7 separate regions of the Homo sapiens genome follow, and regions 1, 2, 3, 4, 6 and 7 are each linked to region 5. Evidence: promoter capture Hi-C in human tissues and cell types (Jung and others, 2019). All regions are on one chromosome and are shown on one strand. Each heading gives the region's core, a stretch centred on a gene start or on the middle of the fragment in contact. The rest is flanking DNA. Distances are from core to core; before and after follow the strand shown.

What was found. The method cuts DNA at HindIII sites, captures the fragments that hold promoters and counts their contacts. A contact is called where the count stands out against the background at its distance.
Region 1: a fragment that was not itself captured here is called in contact with the fragment with the promoter of M6PR in region 5 in 2 of the 25 tissues and cell types used here (lymphoblastoid cells and spleen).
Region 2: a contact is called between a fragment that was not itself captured here and the fragment with the promoter of M6PR in region 5, in 1 of the 25 tissues and cell types used here (heart left ventricle).
Region 3: a contact is called between a fragment that was not itself captured here and the fragment with the promoter of M6PR in region 5, in 1 of the 25 tissues and cell types used here (lymphoblastoid cells).
Region 4: a contact is called between a fragment that was not itself captured here and the fragment with the promoter of M6PR in region 5, in 2 of the 25 tissues and cell types used here (lymphoblastoid cells and spleen).
Region 6: a contact is called between a fragment that was not itself captured here and the fragment with the promoter of M6PR in region 5, in 1 of the 25 tissues and cell types used here (spleen).
Region 7: a fragment that was not itself captured here is called in contact with the fragment with the promoter of M6PR in region 5 in 1 of the 25 tissues and cell types used here (lymphoblastoid cells).

What each region holds. Positions count from the first base shown.
Region 1 is chr12:8,476,202-8,478,901 of GRCh38, forward strand. It overlaps CLEC6A (C-type lectin domain containing 6A), which reads left to right. Exons shown (of 6, transcript NM_001007033.2): 5 at 1-39; 6 at 1,119-2,129. The coding sequence ends at 1,263. Among named protein-coding and RNA genes, the nearest start is that of CLEC6A, 22 kb to the left of the region's middle. The HindIII fragment of the contact is 3,557 bases long and covers 1-2,700 here.
Region 2 is chr12:9,359,277-9,362,049 of GRCh38, forward strand. No RefSeq gene overlaps it. Among named protein-coding and RNA genes, the nearest start is that of LINC02367, 6.8 kb to the right of the region's middle. The HindIII fragment of the contact is 4,916 bases long and covers 1-2,773 here.
Region 3 is chr12:8,560,955-8,563,654 of GRCh38, forward strand. All of the region lies in intron 2 of LOC124902872 (a long non-coding RNA gene), which reads right to left. Among named protein-coding and RNA genes, the nearest start is that of CLEC4E, 21 kb to the left of the region's middle. RefSeq lists an enhancer at 2,428-2,700. The HindIII fragment of the contact is 4,770 bases long and covers 1-2,700 here.
Region 4 is chr12:8,497,684-8,500,448 of GRCh38, forward strand. No RefSeq gene overlaps it. Among named protein-coding and RNA genes, the nearest start is that of CLEC4D, 14 kb to the right of the region's middle. The HindIII fragment of the contact is 6,261 bases long and covers 1-2,765 here.
Region 5 is chr12:8,948,384-8,951,083 of GRCh38, forward strand. M6PR (mannose-6-phosphate receptor, cation dependent) reads right to left here and starts at 1,262. Exons shown (of 7, transcript NM_002355.4): 1 at 1,105-1,262. It also overlaps a transcript of KLRG1 not described here. RefSeq lists enhancers at 526-1,431, 1,432-2,336, 1,835-1,964 and a silencer at 1,642-1,856. The HindIII fragment of the contact is 13,158 bases long and covers 1-2,700 here.
Region 6 is chr12:8,621,257-8,623,956 of GRCh38, forward strand. No RefSeq gene overlaps it. Among named protein-coding and RNA genes, the nearest start is that of AICDA, 9.7 kb to the left of the region's middle. The HindIII fragment of the contact is 6,629 bases long and covers 1-2,700 here.
Region 7 is chr12:8,601,226-8,603,944 of GRCh38, forward strand. It overlaps AICDA (activation induced cytidine deaminase), which reads right to left. Exons shown (of 5, transcript NM_020661.4): 5 at 945-2,719. Among named protein-coding and RNA genes, the nearest start is that of AICDA, 10 kb to the right of the region's middle. The HindIII fragment of the contact is 7,401 bases long and covers 1-2,719 here.

The DNA of each region.
Region 1 (2,700 bases), core at 190-2,689, 470 kb before region 5:
GCAATGGATTGATAAGACACCTTATGAGAAAAATGTCAGGTGAGTGCAGTTCTGGGGCCTTGTTTACATAGAAAATCTAGGGAAATTTTGTTAGGAGTTACTAATAATGTTAATATTGGTAATTATGATAACAGGATCTAACAATTATTAAGCATTACTAAGGATATGCATTATCTCACTTAAACTTCATGAAAACTTCTCTTTTTATGAACTAATTTTACAGATAAAAAATTAAATAACTTGCCCCAAATCAATAAACTAATAAGATGAGAAACTGGATGTCAACTCCATGTCTATCTGATTCCAGAGATGGTGCTCTAAACTATTATATTTTGCTGTTTCTAAACACAAGTAGACACTTAAACTGATCTCTAATTAATAAAACTTAAAATATCTGGGTCAGAACTATGTACAATTTTAGTAGAAAAATTACATAATAATACTATTTACTTGTGGCTTTAAAATAGAATTCAGTTATACATTATCTTATTTGATTCTTCCAAAATCTTGTGAGTTAGTTAGGGACCTTATTATAATTCCCATTTTTAAAGATGAGGAATCTAATACCTGGGGAGATTGAATTACTTCCCCATGATCAAAATGAGTGAGTATCAAAACCAGGTCTTGTAATTCCAAAAGTTATGTCCAACCTCCCAGTCTTTACCCAGAACGTATTCCCTGGAGGCAGGGTAACTTTTACATCCAGATTCAGGCATCCTAAGATTCACTTAAGGCAGATCCATGAGAATAAAGAAGCTTAGGAAGGTGATAAGAATACATAGATGTAAGGAGATAGCCTCTTTATTTCATGTCAGTAAGAAGGAAATTATTTAATAACCCCGCCAGCATAAAGGCTCTGTAAAGAGGAAGATGATTGCAGCGGAAAGATCTAGGAATAAACCATCTCATAAAATTTTGCCAGCAGAATGTTAAAGGAGCAAGTGTAAAAGTATGTGTCCATACTTGAGGATTTGAGGAGAGTAGTATGAGAAGAAGGAACAATCATTGGAATGTTCTCTCTTCCTAAATCCCACTTTGTTCACCCCAGACTTTTATACTTTCTAATCATTCACCATGCATTCTTTGAAGATGTGTACTACCTTTTTGTTTTCCTTTAGATTTTGGCACCTAGGTGAGCCCAATCATTCTGCAGAGCAATGTGCTTCAATAGTCTTCTGGAAACCTACAGGATGGGGCTGGAATGATGTTATCTGTGAAACTAGAAGGAATTCAATATGTGAGATGAATAAGATTTACCTATGAGTAGAAGCTTAATTGGAAAGAAGAGAAGAATTACTGACGTAATTTTTTCCCTGACGTCTTTAAAATTGAACCCTATCATGAAATGATAATTTCTTCCTGAATTTACACATAATCCTTATGTTATAGAGGTTCACAGAAATGGAAAGATACCTGTTTCCCTTTAATCAATCTTCTCGTTTCCTCTTTTCCATTAATGATAGAATGCACCCTTCCTCTCTTTGTTCCATTCTTTCACTTGTTATTCATTTTTTTCTTTCTTCACACTTCATTACACAAATATTTATTGTTTCAGAGACTGTACTATTTTGTTTGTTAGAAGATTTATAAGGCAGTATCTTTTGAAAATTATGACTTTCCTTCCTCAATATACCATAAAGAAATCTTTTTGGTCAAGATGGTAGTTGGAACTACAATCATCTGAAGGCCTGACAAGAGTTGAAAGACATGTTTTCTAGATGGCTCACTCACATGGCTGGCAACTTGGTGTTGGCTATTAATGTAACCTGGAAATAAATTTTATTCTGCAGTTAGGGATTTGGCATTTTATATATGTTGATTCAATCAAGTTTGGCAAGCAGGGTGTTCGATACTGCTATATCCTGTATTCTTGGTTTATTTGTTTTATTTCTGAGAAATATGTGTTAAGATCTCTCGCTGATTGGGAATTTGTCTATTTCTCATTTAAATTTTGTCAAATCTTTCTTTGCTTGCAAGCATTTCTTGTTACCCAAATCTAATCTATTCCTGAAAATATGATGGTTAGCAAAGTTTGAGATAACTAGAGCCTGTAATCCATCATTTTAAATGGCAATGATAATGACAGTTTATTTTTATGTTATATAAAAACCTCAACAAATTTTCCAAACAACTACCAAAATGGTCATTAATCTGTATCCACAAAGGATTTCTGCATAACATACTTTAAAACAAATTACCTAATTATTTAGTGCATATTAAACTTATTGGTGGGCATGACTATATGCAACAGTTGCATGATATATGATACAAATTATGTTATTCTTTTCCATTGCACTGAAAATACCATAATATAAAGAAGAATCCCATCATCCAAATTGAGCCTATATTGATTGATACTCAGAAGAATCTGGCAGTAGGAGCCTATAAAGGGATAAGCAATTGGGAAAGGATTGGGAAGTTGGTAGTACTGAACATCTTCTCACCTGGACTCATGAGCAACTTGAATAGTTGTAACTGTGATGCATATGTAGATTCTAACACATTTTTCCCCCTTGAATAGAAATTTGGCACAACAATTTTTTAAATTAATTTAGCAAATATTTGGATATTAAAGCTTCTTATAGAAAGAGATACCTGTATATTTAAGCCATGATGAGGTATATACAATGTTATAATTATTACTTGTACATGGCAAATTAATTTTTTTATCATTGTGGAGTCACTTTCTTTAAATTTAGT
Region 2 (2,773 bases), core at 274-2,773, 410 kb after region 5:
TTTGGATTGAAAATTCTTTTCTTTAAGAATGTTGAATATTGGCCCCTACTCTCTTCTGGCCTGTAGAGTTTCTGCTGAGAGATCTGCTGTTAGTCTGATGGGCTCCCCTTTGTGGGTAACCCAACCTTTCTCTCTGGCTGCCCTTACCATTTTTTCCTTTATTTGAACCCTGGTGAGTCTGACAATTATGTGTCTTGGGGTTGCTCTTCTCGAGGAGTATCTTTGTGGTGGTCTCTGTATTTCCTTAATTTGAATGTTGGCCTGCCTTGCTAGGTTGGGGAAATTCTCCTGGATAATATCCTGAAGAGTGTTTTCTAGCTTGGTTCCACTCTCCTTGTCACTTTCAGGTACACCAGTCAATTGTAGATTTGGTCTTTTCACATAGTCCCATATTTTTTGGAGGCTTTGTTCATTTCTCTCTTTTCGCCCCCGGGTTCTGCCCAGGGTGGCCTGATGGAAAGCCCCGACATTAGAATGGGAACCATCCCTTAAAACCTGTCTTTTCCAAAAGCCAGTTTGAATTTACATCTTTAAAATCTCCAAAATATTTATTTTACAAGGCAGGAGCTGTGCCCCAAAGCTTGTGGCAATTGGGGACCTAAGGTTCCTTGAAATCACCTGAGTGTGGAAGTGGTGATAAGGTGCTAAAGAGATGATCTGAACTCACCAGGCTGATGTGGATAGAATGGGAGGCCCCAGTTCTGTCCCTCCATCCCTGAGGCCCCTCCCCAACCTCCCTGGACCCCCTGTCCACAGAGGCCGTGCTGTGTGCCAGCCTCACTCCTGCATTCTGGAGATGCCGTTCCAAGATGGAGGTTCCCTCACACCTTCCCCCACCCAGCAAACTCCATTGGACAGATCCACACCAGCAACAGCTTCACAGCTAGGCCCTGGAGGTATGGAGCTCACAGACCTCCCACTAACTAAGAAAAACACGGTAGAGAGCCAGAAGGGTGGCAGGTTCCAACAGAGCCCCCACCATGTCCCCCACCCAGCCCCCCATCCGACCCCTTCCCTCCACCTGGACTCAGCACCATCCTGAGTCCCTGCGTGAGAGGCACGTTGAGTTCTATGGAAGAATAACAAAAGTGAGAACAACTGGTACAGTTGCCATGAGGCCCTGGATGCCCAGGGGACTGGAGGCTTTGACGGCCTCTGACTCGGCCCCTCTCGGGGGATCCTGAAGACTATGGGGATGTTTGCCTCTCCACACACACACAGCATCCCATTCCCTGGCTGCCACTCCACACAGATTACCTTCCTGCACCAGAGGTTTCAATATTTCTTGAAAAGGTTGGCAATTTTGAAATTTTTTTCATACATTTATTCCTTACGATCCACTCCTCTGCTTTCTTACAATTGAGCATTTTGAGAATAATTTAACCTTTTCATCATGACTTGGGGTCCTGATGATGAACACCATTATTGTGTTGAGATGTCATTTCCCCCAGAGTGCAGGGACCATGTCTCAGTCCTCTGTGTGCTCCTCGGCACCTCGGCCAGCCCATGGCGATGCTGTGTGTGTCTGCGGGGTTGCACTGACAGAAGCCAACAGAGGCTCTGGCATAAAGGCTGACAGCCTGCTGCTCTGGGCGGTTCTGCTTTGTGAATATGTGTTCCTTAGTGTCTTTCCTTAGTATCCTCTCTTGCTATCAGTCTATCAGCTCACCAAATCTTGAGGCCCCTCTTTTTATTTTCACTTTTTAAAAATTGAGATATCATTCACCTAACATAAAAATCACCCTTTTAAAGTGGTTTTCATATATATTCACAAAATTGTGCGTCCATCACTACTATCTAATTCTAAACATTTTCATCACCTCCACAAAGAAACCTCATACGCATGGTCAGTCTCCACACTTCTTTCCCCTAGCCCCCAGCAACCACAAACCTACCTTCTGTCTCTCTGGATTTGCCTGTTCTGCACTTTTGCATAGAATGGAATCCTGTGCCATGTGGTCCCTTTATGCACGATATCCAACCCAGAGAAAGGCCTTGCTTCCTAAGCCCTCCTGAGACTCACCAGCCACGAGCCCGCATCTATAGCAAGTTCTTTTGAAGGCCCTCTTTACTGCTGGACATTCTTCCTTTGTGCAACAAGTCAATAAACCCATTTTGGTTCAGCTACAGGTGAGTTCTTGGTGGTTTTTTAGCTTAGGAGGATTGGCAGAAATAGAGGTTCCCTGAGTCAGCTGAAGCCCTCCCCCTTGGACAAGAACCCCCGCCTCAGTTAGGGTGGACACAGCTGAGACATACAGGGTGTCTCCCTCTGTCTGAGGTGCCGGGTGGCCCACAGCTGGAAGGCAGCTCGGGCTGAATGGAGGCTGATATTTCCTTGAGGCCCCATGGAGGCTGATATTTCCTTGAGGCCCCTCCGCTTCAGGTGTGCTCTGTTCTGGGAATGAGGTGCTGTGCGACTTTTCCTGGTGATCTGATCAGATTTGCCCCGCTCCACGGTGAAACTGCTGTCTAGCCTTCTGAGAAATGCTCCTATGTCTATCTGGTGGTCGAATGTTCTAAGCGTTGTCTCTAAGTGGAAAATTCAGTAGTTGATAGGGGCCCGGGAAGTCTGTCCTCAAGCTGGTCTTGGAGGTCACAGTGCTCAGGAGTTCCCCTCAGACTAGCATTCATTGGAATGAGCTTTGCCCCAGGTCACTGTTTTCATACCTAAGGGTGGATTTTCCCCTCAACTTTGTCTCTGTGTGGTTCCTGAGAACTGCTCACTTTAAAGTTCCCTCTGCCTGGAATCAGGAGGATTGGGGACAATCAGCCT
Region 3 (2,700 bases), core at 142-2,641, 390 kb before region 5:
AAAAGTTTCCAAGGCCAATATTAAGGCTCCAACCTCAACTTTTTGAGTGCTAATAAATCCAGAACAAGTGAGGGAATTATGCCATCTCCACCAGACAGCTGCTTTTCCATCTTTACCAGAGCCATCAATAAACAGTGTTAAAGCATTAGGTATGGGGGATTGAACTATTTTTGTAGGCGAAAGCACAGAAGTACGAGATAAGAACTGAAGGAGTTTGTCAGCAGGAAGGGCGTGCTTTATACGGCCTGTGTAATCAGAGAGTGCTATTTGCAGGTCCATAGATAAGGGCAATACTGCTTCAAATTGCTTTTTACTTAAAGGAATTCTGATGATATTAGGGTCATAACCTAGTAATAGATTGCCTTGTCTGCAGCCTAAATAGATGACTTTACTAACTAACTGGATATAGGGAGAGACTGTTTTAGTCCCAGTATGTGAGCAAAAAACCCATCCTAGGACAGCCCTGGGGTCATCTGTCCTATTAGCCCTGTAGAGGTGTGTTTAGTGGGAAAAACAAATAATTGAACTGAATACCATGGATCAATGCAATCTAGTTGCCTCTAAGAAATAGCTTGCTCTATCTCTTCAATTTCCCTTTGTGCTGCAGGAGTTAAATACCTAGAGAGTCTAGGGCAGCATTGTCTTTTAAGATAGACAACAGGTTCTGTAACTTATCAGTAGTTATGCCCAAGGTTGGGCGAAGCCAGTTAATATCACCTAGTCATTTCTGATAATCATTCAAGGTATGTAAGTTGCCAGTATTTAATTTAACATTTTGGGGTCTTACTGACCGGGTAGTTAGTATATACTCAAGGTATTTCCAAGGAGAGGAAATTTGTACTTTTTCAGGTGCTACGATTAAACCTCTTAACTGTGTATTCCTTATGACAGAGGCACGTAACTTTAAAAGTACTGGCTCTGTTGGGGCTGCTAGTAAAATATCATCCATAAAATGAATAATCTTGCAATTAGGAAATTCTTTTCTACTGGGGAGCAAAGCCTGATTTACATGATACTGACACATGGTAGGACTGCTCAGCATTCCTTGGGGTAGCACTTTCCAATGAAATCGGTGAGCTGGCCTTTCATTATTGATAGCTGGTATTGTAAACACAAATTTTTCTCTGTCCTGTTCTGCAAGGGGAATAGTATAAAAACAGTCTTTTAAGTGAATAACGATTATAGGCCAATCTCAAGGAATCGCTGCAGGGGAGGGGAGCCCCTACTGAAGGGGCCCCATAGGTTGCAAATTAGCATTGATAGCACGCAAGGCATGCAAAAGTCTCCATTTACCAGACTTTTTGGGGATGACGAAAATGGGCGAATTCCAAGGGTTGTTTGACGGTTCTGTATGGCCGGCTTTTAATTGCTCCTCAACTAATTCATGGGCTCTTTGCAATTTCTCTCCCTTTAAAGGTCACTGTTCTACCCAAATAGGATTTTGAGAGAGCCACGTCAGGGGCAGGGGAGAGATAACAACAATGGCCATTATTAGAAAGAGGTCTGCAGAGTGACCGCAATTAACCCTCTCGTAAATGGGCTGGTGGCACCGCCTACTGGCCTGGAGGTCAAACTGCACAGCTCAATGTAAAACCTGCAGAGTAAAGTGCACCTGGCTATCTATAGAAGCAAAACCAAAAGACCCTACCCAACATTTCCACAGTCACGCCCCCAGGGGAAGGGGAATAATAGTGGGAAAAAAACCCATCAAAATGAAAATAAATTTAAAAATAAGAAGTGTCAGCTTCCCCAAATGAGAAGAAACCAGAGTAAGGATTATTGCACCATGAAAAATCTGAATGCTGTGACACCACCTAAGGATCAATAGACCTTAACCAAGATGAACACTCAGAAATGACAGATGAAAAATACAAAGTATGGATTGCAAGGAAGCTCAATGAGATCCAAGAGAAGCTTGAAAACCAACACAAAGAAACCATGAAAGCAATCCAGGAGATGAAGAGATAGATATCTAAAAAACAGAAGTTCTAAAAATGAAAAATTCACTTAAAGATTTTCAAAATATATTTGAAAGCTTTAATAATAGATTAGGTCAAGCAGAAGAAGGAATTTCAGAGCCTGAAGACTGCTCTTTCAAATTAACTCAGTCAAATAAAAATAAAGAAAAAAAGAATTTTTAAAAAATGAAAATTCAAGAAATATGGGATTATGTAAAGTGACCAAACCTATGACTTACAGGCATTCTTGGAAGAGAAGAAAAGATAAGCAACCTGGAAAGCATATTTAAAAGAATAATTCAGAAAAAATTATCTAATCTTACTAGAGAAGTAGACTTCCAGGTACAAGAAAGTCAGAAAATACCTTTAAGATACAAAATGCCACTGCACTCCAGCCTGGGCGACAGAGCAAGACTCTGTATCAAACAGAAACAAAAACAAAACAAAGATATGCTTGCAAAAATATGAAATGGCAGATGCACATGGTTATTTGCACCATTATTTTCAAAAGTCAAACTGGAGCACCATCTGAATATTCATCAAATTCAGGACTGATGAGGCAGAGCAACACAATGGATTATTATGCAGATATACAAGAGAATGCGGAAGCTCTGTAAAGTAGGGTGTGAACTCCAGGACACAGGGTGAAGTGAAGAAAGCAAGGTGCAGAAATTGCACACAGTATGCCATCTTTTGTACTGGGGAAAGGAATACAAAGCAGCGGGGAAAGGAATGTGTATGC
Region 4 (2,765 bases), core at 261-2,760, 450 kb before region 5:
TTCTTGATGAATTTTGGAATCTCTGCCAAAAACTACTCGATCAACTCTCAATCCTCTTTTCTAACCCCACCTTCATATTCTCTGTACCCATAAGCATCTGTTAAAACTTTGAGTGCTGTTACTTCTCTGATTTCAAGTGTGAGCAGTGGTTTGAACTTTCTCCTGCAGCTGAGTTAGACTACCTCAGAGACTGACAATATCTTCAACCATGGCTGAGTTAGACATGATTTCTGGACATTGTATAAAAGATTCCCCATTCTTATTCCTGTGCTCTGATACACTCAGGGGGATTCGTTGTTGCCGTTGTAATGCTTTAATTACTTGCAATAATGTATATTCCTATATCACCAGTTTGGGCAGCATGAAATAATAAAAAGAATGCAAACTCTGACATCATACAGGTCAATAATAAATTTTAAAAATTAACACCAAAATAAAATATGCACGTGGTGATAATTCAAATTGTTCCAAAGAGTTTATTATGAAAAGCAACCAATCTTTCCTGGCACTACTGTGCAGATGCAAGTTATTTAAGCTTTTTTTTAATTAAATTTTGAGACGGAGTCTCGCTCTGTCACCAGGCTGGAGTGCAGTGGCTTGATCTTGGCTCACTGCAACCTCTGCCTCCTGGGTTCAAGTGATTCTCCTGCCTCAGCCCCCTGAGTAGCTGGGACTACAGGCAAGCACCACCATGCCCAGCTAATTTTTGTGTTTTTAGTGCAGACGGGGTTTTACCATGTTGGTCAGCATGGTCTTGATCTCTTGACCTCATGATCTGCCCGCCTCAGCCTCCCAAAATGCTGAGATTACAAGTGTGAGCCACCATGCCTGGTCAGCTTTTTTTTTTTAAGTTCTTCTAGTGATTTTTTCCATGATTCTAAATAAAACTCATATTTCTATTTCTGCAAATTGCAATCCAGTACTCCCTGCTCCTCTAATTCTTTTCCACTTTCCTTTTCATTTTTACATTTTCTACTTTGACTTTTGATAATTAAGTAATGATATTATTACTTTTCATTAATTTGTTGGTTACTTTTGTAAGTCTAAATAGTATCCTTGGCCATCTATTTTTTGTTTCATCTCATTAAAATGAGAACAGTTGTTCCCATACTCCCCTCATATTCCTTCATCCCTTTCCTTCTTACTTCAGCCACATTTTAAATTGTACCTTGTCAAGGTTGTTGACATTTACATTCTATACTACACCATGGCCGAATGTCCGTGCTTTGTCCAAAGGCTAACTCTAATCAATAAATTTTTACATAATCACATTTCTTTTGGGCCAAGATATGGGCTAACATTATGTTTTCTTCTCTGTGGGTACTGTGTTTCAATTCTGATTTATCCAGAGGAGATTGCTTCCATCACTCAGATCACATGGCCTCTATTTACTTAGACTCCATCTATTATTTCAACTCAAGCCACACTTCAATTTGATTCCTATTTAAATCCTCCTTTCTTGTACAACTTTAATTTTTTTCCGATATTGCTAGTCACCTTTCCTTGAATTATCTGTTATACCCTTGATCTTCAATCCTCCCAATCTTTCTATTATACAGCATTGTGCTTTGATCTGTTCTTCTCAGCATCCTCCTTCTGCTACTCCACACTAGACTCACTATCCTTTAGTCCTGTTCATGGTTGTTATTCAAGGACTTCCCTTCCCGGCTCGTTTGGTTTACATCTACTGTTTCTTGTACACTATGCCTTTCTCTTTGTTGTGTTGGGTATAACTGTCAACACACCTGAGTGTGCAAGGAAATCTGGTTCTAATATCCTGTTATGCCAGCCTCATAGGAAGTTCAATCTCAGTTATTTTGGAGCTCTTTTCTCCTCATTGCAATTGCATGAGAATCCAGGAAGGTTATGTGTTGTCCAGGAGGACAGGACAAAGGAAGGAGGGCTTTTAATCTGCAGTGTATCAGGATCACCACTGATTGTCCCATTGTTCAACATGGGTTTCGGGTAGATCTCTCCATTTTTGGGAGCTTGTTAGAACTTGTATTCTGTACCCTAACGTGACGTTTTCTTCTCTGTGGGTCTTGTGTTTCAATTCTGGCTTATTCAGAGGAGATTCCTTTATTTTAACCTGCAAAAGAAGTGGTGCAGAGGGAAGCTTGAATGTCGTTTTACCTGTAGCAGCCACAGGAGGGCAACTTCTCCCTTCTTCCTCTGCAGTTAAATTCATCTTGTTTCTCCTCTAAATTATAAGCTTTAAAAAATGAAACATTTTATTTATTTGTCATCCTATTTTGGAGTTGTAAAAAAAGACAGATAAAGAAAAAGAGGACCATCTTCTAGTTAAATTAATTCTGACAAGGGCCATGCAGAGTTGTTATGGAATTCTCCCAGATTTGATAAAATGCCCACAAAATCAATGTATGTTTAATTTTTTTGGAGGAAGAATGATAAAAGGAGCAATACTCACAAAGAGCGTGTTGACTGAAATTGTTAACAACCATTGCATTAGGAGGTATCAACTGCTGACTGCAAGAGGTGGACATGTGGATTCTTCTTGAGAATGACAAAAAGTGACACTAATGGCCTGACAGTGAAGAACAGAAGGAAACTAAAAAATGCTATAAGTATAGTTGGGGAGCCTTATGTAATGTAGCAGAAGTTGGTTGTAAGGGCATGAGCATCCAGTATAATCACTGATCTTCAAACTGAGGATGTAGAAGAGTAAAGTTTAAAGGATCTTCATTAACAAAGATGATAGTGTCTTATTTACGCAGTTCTTTACAGTTTTAGAACATGTGTTCCAT
Region 5 (2,700 bases), core at 12-2,511:
AATTACTTGTTAAATTACTTGCTGTACATTACACAGATATTAAATGTGTGTGAAGTTACTGGGGCAATTTAGACGATTCGTGGCATAAAGATAACTGCTGGAAAACTTATAAACATAGGGGTGCAACAATCAGGAAGAGAATGAAATGGAAGGGCCCAGTAGCCCCCTTTTAATATGCTACAATTAGATTCTCAAGGTACAAGAGTTTGTCTATATACTTTGGAAATAAGGAGCAGGATTTTATGATCTTGAAAAATCTTTCAGTTTTCTTATTCTCTAACGACAGATCTATTTTATTTGGCAATGCTAAAAATTATCCTTTATTAGGGTGGCCAATGACTAAGCCAGCAACTGGGAAGCAGCTTACACCACTGGGCCTCTGTAGCACTCACTTCCCCATCTGTTAAGACAGCCATGGCCATTTACCAGTGGAATTTCTACTGTCTTCCCGCTGGCTCCTTTCTGATGTAGCAGTCCTTATCCCTTTTTCTCCAGCAGCCTACATGTTTAGAAAAGCAGCCTCAATTGGCTAAAAGGCCTAATGCTGAAAGAACTCAAGAGAGAAGGAGCCTCAGACAAGTAGCGGCTATGTCCCAAGAGCGGAAGCTCCCCACAACGAGGAACACAAGATAATCCGTCCATCAGCCATTCTTATCCACACCACAGTCGCATCCCCCTCAAAGCTCTCCCAGGGTGCCAGAAATTCTCGCTCTGTCTAGTGTCCCGACTTTCCAAGCGCTTGTAGCCATACCCTCTCCAAATGATGCCACTTGACCTCCCACCGTGATGCAGGCCAAAATTCCTCCTACAAATAAATCCACCAACACCTCCAACGGACTCCATACTTGGGGTATTTTCCTTTCCCTGCTTTCTAAATATCGTAAATCCCCTCTCTGGTCTTGGAAGTCCTTTCTCCCTCACACCTTTCGGAACTCCGTGACTCTCCGCTCTCATGCCTCCGCCTCCATTCTACCCTTAGGGCTCCTCAGCCAGATCTTTGGCTAGAACCATGGTCAAGGGAGAATGCGATTCCGGCTCCTGTCACAGACGCTTAAGTGTGAGCGCAACCCAGCCCGCCTCCTCCTCCACGCCCCTCACACTCACGTGTCGTGGGAAACTGGAGTAGCCAAAGCTCAGAATCCCCAGTGAATACCCTTCTGGGGATGGGAGACGGGGCCAGCTAGGGGCCGGCCGCAGACCCCGGTCCCAGAGCTAGTTTCAGAGGCCAGCGTTCCCCCTAGCGCCTCGCTGTGCCCCACTCTGGGAACCGGAAACAGGAAGCGCCAAGAGGCCGCTGGGCAACCGCTCCTCCCACCAGACCCCGCGGCATGTGACCATAGAACCATTTCGCCCCTTTCCCCTTCCCGGGCTCCCTGATAATCTTAAACTCTGATTGGCCAGTATTCTGGGACTTTAGCTCCGCCCTCGTTCCATCAGCTCCAATCACTATCGAGGTTGTCGTTTCGCCTTTTCTGGTTGCCTTTCTTTCAATGGGGTCCCAGAGTCCCGCTTCCAGGGCCTCTCGGCTCGCGCACCCCGGTCACGCGGGGTCACGCGCCTGACCGCTCCCGGGTAGGGTTCGAGTGAAGAGGGTGAGAGGGGCAGGTGGCGGAAGCGGAAGTTACGCAGGCAGCTCGCCCTCGGGCTCCGCGGGAGTTGTAGTTCTCACGCTAGGTCTCCTCCGGGCGCTTCCCTAGCCCGTTCGCCGCCTGAGAGGGACGCTGTTCCGCCGCGTGGAAGCTTCGAGTCTCGACTCCACTGTTGACCCCTAGACGAGAGTAGTGCAGCGACGGGGCCGTGATGTGCGTCCTGGCTTTCTTAACGACACCTCTCCTCTGTATTTCCTTTTTCCAGTTGAGTACCTTGGGGTGAATTATTATTGTTACTGTTATCTCTGTCGTTCCTTACTGCTTCGTGGTATTTTGCTTGATAAGCATGCTCTGCAACCACCTCTGTTCGCCAGAGGTTACTTCTGCAAAGTAGGAAGAAACGAGCAATACGATGGTAATCTTTGCGCCTTTGCTAAGATCTTTTGTAGGTTCCTTATGTCTTACTAGCCACTTGTTGAAGTCCTGCTCATTCTTAAACTCTGTTCAGATGTTATTTTTCCTGTAACTTCGTGCATTCACTCTCTTCAGAATTAACAATTTCTTCCTGTGGACCCTCGCTTGTGGCTTGTACCTGGCTTTAGCATGTTTTCATTCCGCTTCCACTCTTACGTTGCTTCTATGTGTGCCTCTCTGGCTCTATGCAGGTGCCTGGATTTTTGATTCTTACCCCTCTCATTAGAACTACTACAGTGTTTTGAGTCTAATAATAATAAAAGCTAACGGATGCATATCTCGGTGGTGCCCGGCACTTTTGTAAGTGCTTTAAACGATAGTTAATTCACTTGGTCTTCACACCAACCTTATGAGGAAGTATCTTATCCCAAGTTTACAGATGAGTAAATTAAAGCAGATAGAAGCTAAGTAACACCGTGGGTCCCAAGCTATTAAGTTATGGAGCCAGTATTTAAATAGTCTCCATAATCCATGCTCTCAAGCACTACGCTTTACCGACTGTATGCCATTCTGCATTTCTTTGTTTATTAGTAATACATTCAGTTCAGGCTAGGTAGTAATCATATCTGGGTTGGATGTTGCCCCAATAAAAAAAAAAATTAAATTTTTTTCTTCCTGAAAATGAAAGTAATTTGTG
Region 6 (2,700 bases), core at 194-2,693, 330 kb before region 5:
CCCACCTCAGCCTCCTGAGTAGCTGGGACTACAGGTATGTGCCACCATGCCCAGCTAATTTTTGTATTTCTTGTAGAGATGGGGTTTTGCCATGTTGCTCAGGCTGGTCTCGAACTCCTGGGCTCATATGATCTGTCTGCCTTGGCCTCCCAAAGTGTTGCGATTATAGGCGTGAGCCACTGTGCCAGGCCAATATAGACATTTTAACAATATTAACTCTTCTAATCCATGAACACAGGATATCCTTCCACTTATTTGTCGTCTTCTTCAACTTCTTTCATCAATGTTTTATAAGTTTCAGTGTATATATCTCTTACCTCCTTGGTTAAGTTTATTCTTAACTATTGTATTCTTTTTGATGCTATCATAAATGAAATTAGTTTCTTGATTTCCTTTTCGGGTAGATATTTGTTCTTGTAAATAAATGCAACTACTTTTTGTATGTTGGCTTTTTAATCCTGCAACTTTACTGAATTTATTAGTTCTAATTGTTTTTTTGTGTGTGGACTCCTTAGTTTTCTACATACAGAATTATGTCATCTACAAAGAGAAATAATTTTACTTCTTCCTCTCAAATTTGGATGCCTCTTATTTTTCTTGTGTGATTGTTCTTGCTAGCACTTCCAGCATTATGTTGAATAGAAGTGGCAACAGTGGGCATCCTCATCTTGTACAAGATCTTAGAGAAAAAGTTTTCAGCTTTTCCATTAATTTTGATGTTAGCTGTGTGCTTTTCATAAATGGCTGTTATTGTGCCAAGGAATTTCCTTCTATACCTATTTTGATGCGTTTTTTTTTTCTCTGCCATGAATGAGTATTGAAGTTTGTCAAATGCTTCTGCATCTCTTGACATGATCATGTGGTTTTTAATATGACATAGCACATTGATTGATTTGTATGTGTTAAACCACTCCAAAGGATAAATCCCACTTAGTTATGGTGTAGAATCTTTCTGATGTGTTGTTGAATTTGGTTTGTTACTACTTTATTGAGGATTTTTGTATCTATCACATATTTCTTTTTCCTTTTTTTTCTTTTCTTTTCTTTTTTTTTTTTTTTGAAACAGAGTCTTGCTCTGTCACCCAGGCTGGAGTGCAATGGCGGGATCTCAGCTCACTGCAACCTCTGCCTCCCGGGTTCAAGCAATTCTCCTGCCTCAACCTCCTGAGTAGCTGGGATTACAGGCGCCCGCCACCAAGCCAGGCTAATTTTTGCATTTTAGTAATGATGGGGTTTCACCATGTTAGTCAGGCTGGTCTCCAACTTCTGACCTCAAGTGATCCACCCACCTCAGCCTCCCAAAATGCTGGGATTACAGGCACGAACCACCACACTCAGCCAATTTTTTTGTATTTTCAGTAGAGACGGGGTTTCACCATGTTGGCCAGCCTGGTCTCAAACTCTTGACCTCAGGTGATCTGCCCACCTCGACCTCTCAAAGTGCTAGGATAACAAGGCGTGAGCCAGCACGCCCAGCCTATCACATATTTCTTAATGGCACCTCCTTTAAACACACACACTCACATCCTTACTGAAACTGAAATTATTTTTTAAAGCCCAATAGCTTCCCTGACAAGGGCCCTCTTTCTTCCTGCTCAGCGTCTGACTGGGGAGTAATCCCATTCTCTACACAAAAAGTCATTATCTAACAAGTTCAGCCAACAGCTAGAAAGCAGAAAAGCTGGGACTGAGATTTGAAAGCATCAGCCTTACTCCAAAGCCCATGCAATACTGTCAAGCTGGTAAAATCAATCCTACAGACCTTAATCTATTTGACCATATCAATTTAGAAATCTTCATCAGAGCTACAGAGAAAGATCCCCCTGCCGCCGCCACATAACTATATCATTTAGAATTGGTATATGTCAGGCAAACTCAATAAATGGCTTATGCAAGAAAGACTTTGTCTTCCACCCAAAAATGTAGACAGTTGACTTAGCAAGTATTAAATCTAAATCTAATTGAAACATGGACCTGTACTTCCTTGGAGCTCCTTGCTTTATCAAAAGAGGCTCTGTTGGCAGAATTATCTGTGGATATTTGTTTATTCTATTTTATAAAATATATTTGATATAGTGTTGGCAAAACCTAATAAACACAACACAAAATACAGTCTACATTCCTGTATAATGTCTCCTTCTGTTTTGAAAATCTTTTCAGTGTATAGACTGCAAAAAAGATTCTCTCTAACATATATCAATCGGTTTTAGATATTCAGCATTTGAAAATAAAGTTCCTGGAGAGAAACAAATATTCTGTTTGTTTTGATGTTCTACCCCTTTGGGGGCAATTTAAAAAAGTGATTTTATGACGAATTTATGAAGATTACCTTTGAAAGCTGAAATTCATTCATCTGATTAATATTTATTAAAGGCCTATTATGAGAGAGCATAAGGGGAACATCGAAGGTGAATACTGGTGTGCATTATAGTTCTTCAAGCAGTTTATAATGTTGTTAAAAGCTTTAAAAATAGACATAATACTTAAAGGCAGGAGTGGTGGCTCATGCCTATAATCCCAGCACTTTGGGAGACCCCGGCGGGCAGATTACCTGAGGTCAGGAGTTTGAGACCAGCCTGGCCAACATGGTGAAACCTTGTCTCTACTAAAAACACAAAAATTAGCCGGGTGTGGTGGTGCATGCCTGTAATCACAACTACCCGGGAGGATGAGGCAGCAGAATCCTTTGAACCCAGGAGG
Region 7 (2,719 bases), core at 218-2,717, 350 kb before region 5:
TTTGTTTTTGAGACAGCCTTAAGAGTAGCTGGGACTACAGATGTGTGCTACCATGCCTGGCTAAGTTTTTTAGAGATGGGGTCTCACTGTGTTGCCCAGGCTGGTCTTGAACTCCAAGGCTCAGGGCACCTGCCTGCCTCGGCCTCCCATAATGCTGGGATTACAGGCGTAACCATCATGCCCAGTCAGATTATTTCCTTATAGCCAGTGCTTATATGGAAAGGAGGGGGAATTAGAGTAATATTTTTAGGTTTTATGACTGGTTTGGGGGAAAGGAGGTGCTGGTTTCTTTGACCGCCTTGTGGAAGAGAGATTCTAGTTTCTATGTGGCCTCAGGGAAGAATGAGGTGCCAGAGACAGGAGGGCTGGAGAAGGTGAGAGAGAGAGTTTTGCTTCTGAGGCCTAAACCATCCAACCTTATAACAAATGACTGTAACAAGGGTGAGGGGGTTTATAAGCCAGGAACTATGGACAAAAACCTATATATATATCATAATATCACAACCCTTATCAGATATATGATTTGCAAGTGTTTTCTCCCACTTCTGTGGGTTGTCTTTTCACTTTCTTACTAAGTGTCCTTTGATGCACAAAGATTTTTAATTTCGATGAAGTCCAACTTATTTATTTTTGTCTTTGGTTGCTTGTGCTTTTGATGTCATAATTAAGAAGCTGTTGCCTAATCTAAAGCCATAAACATTTTTACCTATGTTTCTCTCTACGGTTTATAAATTAGTCTCTAATATTTAGGTATTTGATGAATTTTTAATTAATTTTTATATATGGTGTGTAGTAGAGACTCAAATTCATTCCTTTGCATGTAATATCCAATTAGCTCAGCACCATTTGTTGAGAAGATCATTTTTTCTCCATTGAATGGTCCTTACACCCTTGTGAGAAATTAGTTGATTACAGATGTATGGGATAACTTCTGGACTCTCAAGTTTATTCCATCATACTGATTTTTTATTTTAACTTCATATAAATCACTTTTATATTATTTTATTTGGTATTTTATCTTCACAGCTTCCAAAATTATTTATCATTTATTTAACTGATTGAAAGTGAGCCAGAAGCAAATTTGCTGTCATAAAAGTTTACTAAAAATCAAGAGAAATGGCTTCGTAGCACCATTACTGCAATGTTACAATTACATACGTTGTTATTAGAATCATTTCTAAAGTTATAAATTTATGAAGCTTTGAGACTCCATTTCAATATATCAGAAAAGGAAATCATGTTAATAAAAAATCATTAGACGCAAAATAATATAAAATATAAATGAATACATGAAGTAACAATTTTTAACTCTTTTACAAACTTATGTACAATAAGATTAAAATAAGACAGTTGTGCATTCAAGTTTTCCTGTGGATCTGCTCATCTTCATTGCAAGGGTTGCTAGGTAATAACGGCACAGGGATATGGTTATTCTGAATATTTTTCTCACTGTCAAAGACAGTTGTTAGGGACAAATAGACACCAAAAGAGACAAATAGGGATCCCTTATTGGCTCCTTACATTTTGTTGGATAAAGCACAATTTCCTTGCAATGCTTCCCCATCCTTCTCTCCCAAATATTGTTCTCTTTCTCTCTCTCTCTCTTTTTTTTTTTTTTTTCTGAGACAGAGTCTTGCTCTTGTCGCCCAGGCTGGAGTGCAACGGCACGATCTCAGCTTACTGCAACCTCCACCTCCTGGGTTCAAGCGATTCTCCTGCCTCAGCCTCCCAAGTAGCTGGGATTACAGGTGCCTGCTACCACGCCTGGCTAATTTTTGCATTTTGAGTACAGACGGGGTTTTGCCATGTTGGCCAGGCTGGTCTCAAACTCCTGACCACAGGTGATCCGCCCGGCTCGGCCTCCCAAAGTGCTGGGATTACAGGCGTGAGCCACCACGCCCGGCCCTCTCTCTTTCTTTTTTTTTTTTTTTTTTTTGAGAGACAGGATCTTGTTATGTTGCCCAGGCTGGCCTTGAACACCTGTGTTCAAGCCATCCTCCCTCCTCAACCTCCCAAGCAGCTAGAACTATGAGCGTGTGCCACGGTTCGCAGCTTTATCATTCTGTTTTGTCACAACTCTCTTATATAGTTAATATACCTTTGGGAGAAGCATCACACACATACAAAATGTAGCAAACCTTGACCTGATTGGCATTTCTGAGATGAAGAGACCCACGAGAGCCAATAGATTTTCCTCTCCCCAACATTCAAGCAACTTCCTTCCAATTGTTTGCTAATTATGATATGTGAAGTTTGTGGGTGTTTCTAAATTAGGGACTTCCTTAAAAGAGTTTGCGTTTCCAGAAGATTTGCTACTTCAGACATCAACCCATTATTAGGGTGTCTTGTTCACAGTCCTCCTGCCCATTTTAAGATCCTTTATTAAAGTAGCTTGAAGGTGACCATGCATGGTCTATACCTCCATCCCCACCCATAACAATCTTCTTTTGTACAAACATAAAAACATGCTTCTGCTGATTAAAACATACAGCGCATGATTGGATATTAATGCTTTGGAGAGATGGTTTGGGGTCACAATCACCCAGATACTCTCATTAGGAGGTCCTATAGATCATGGCCTGATGGAAGAGTTTGTGTTACTTGAAAGTAAACGTCAAGGGAAAAGAATAGAAAAATCTATCACTAACACCACTGTTAACTCAAATGAATCAAATAATAAAGGATGTTGATATAAAAACATTTGATCCTCTCACCATGC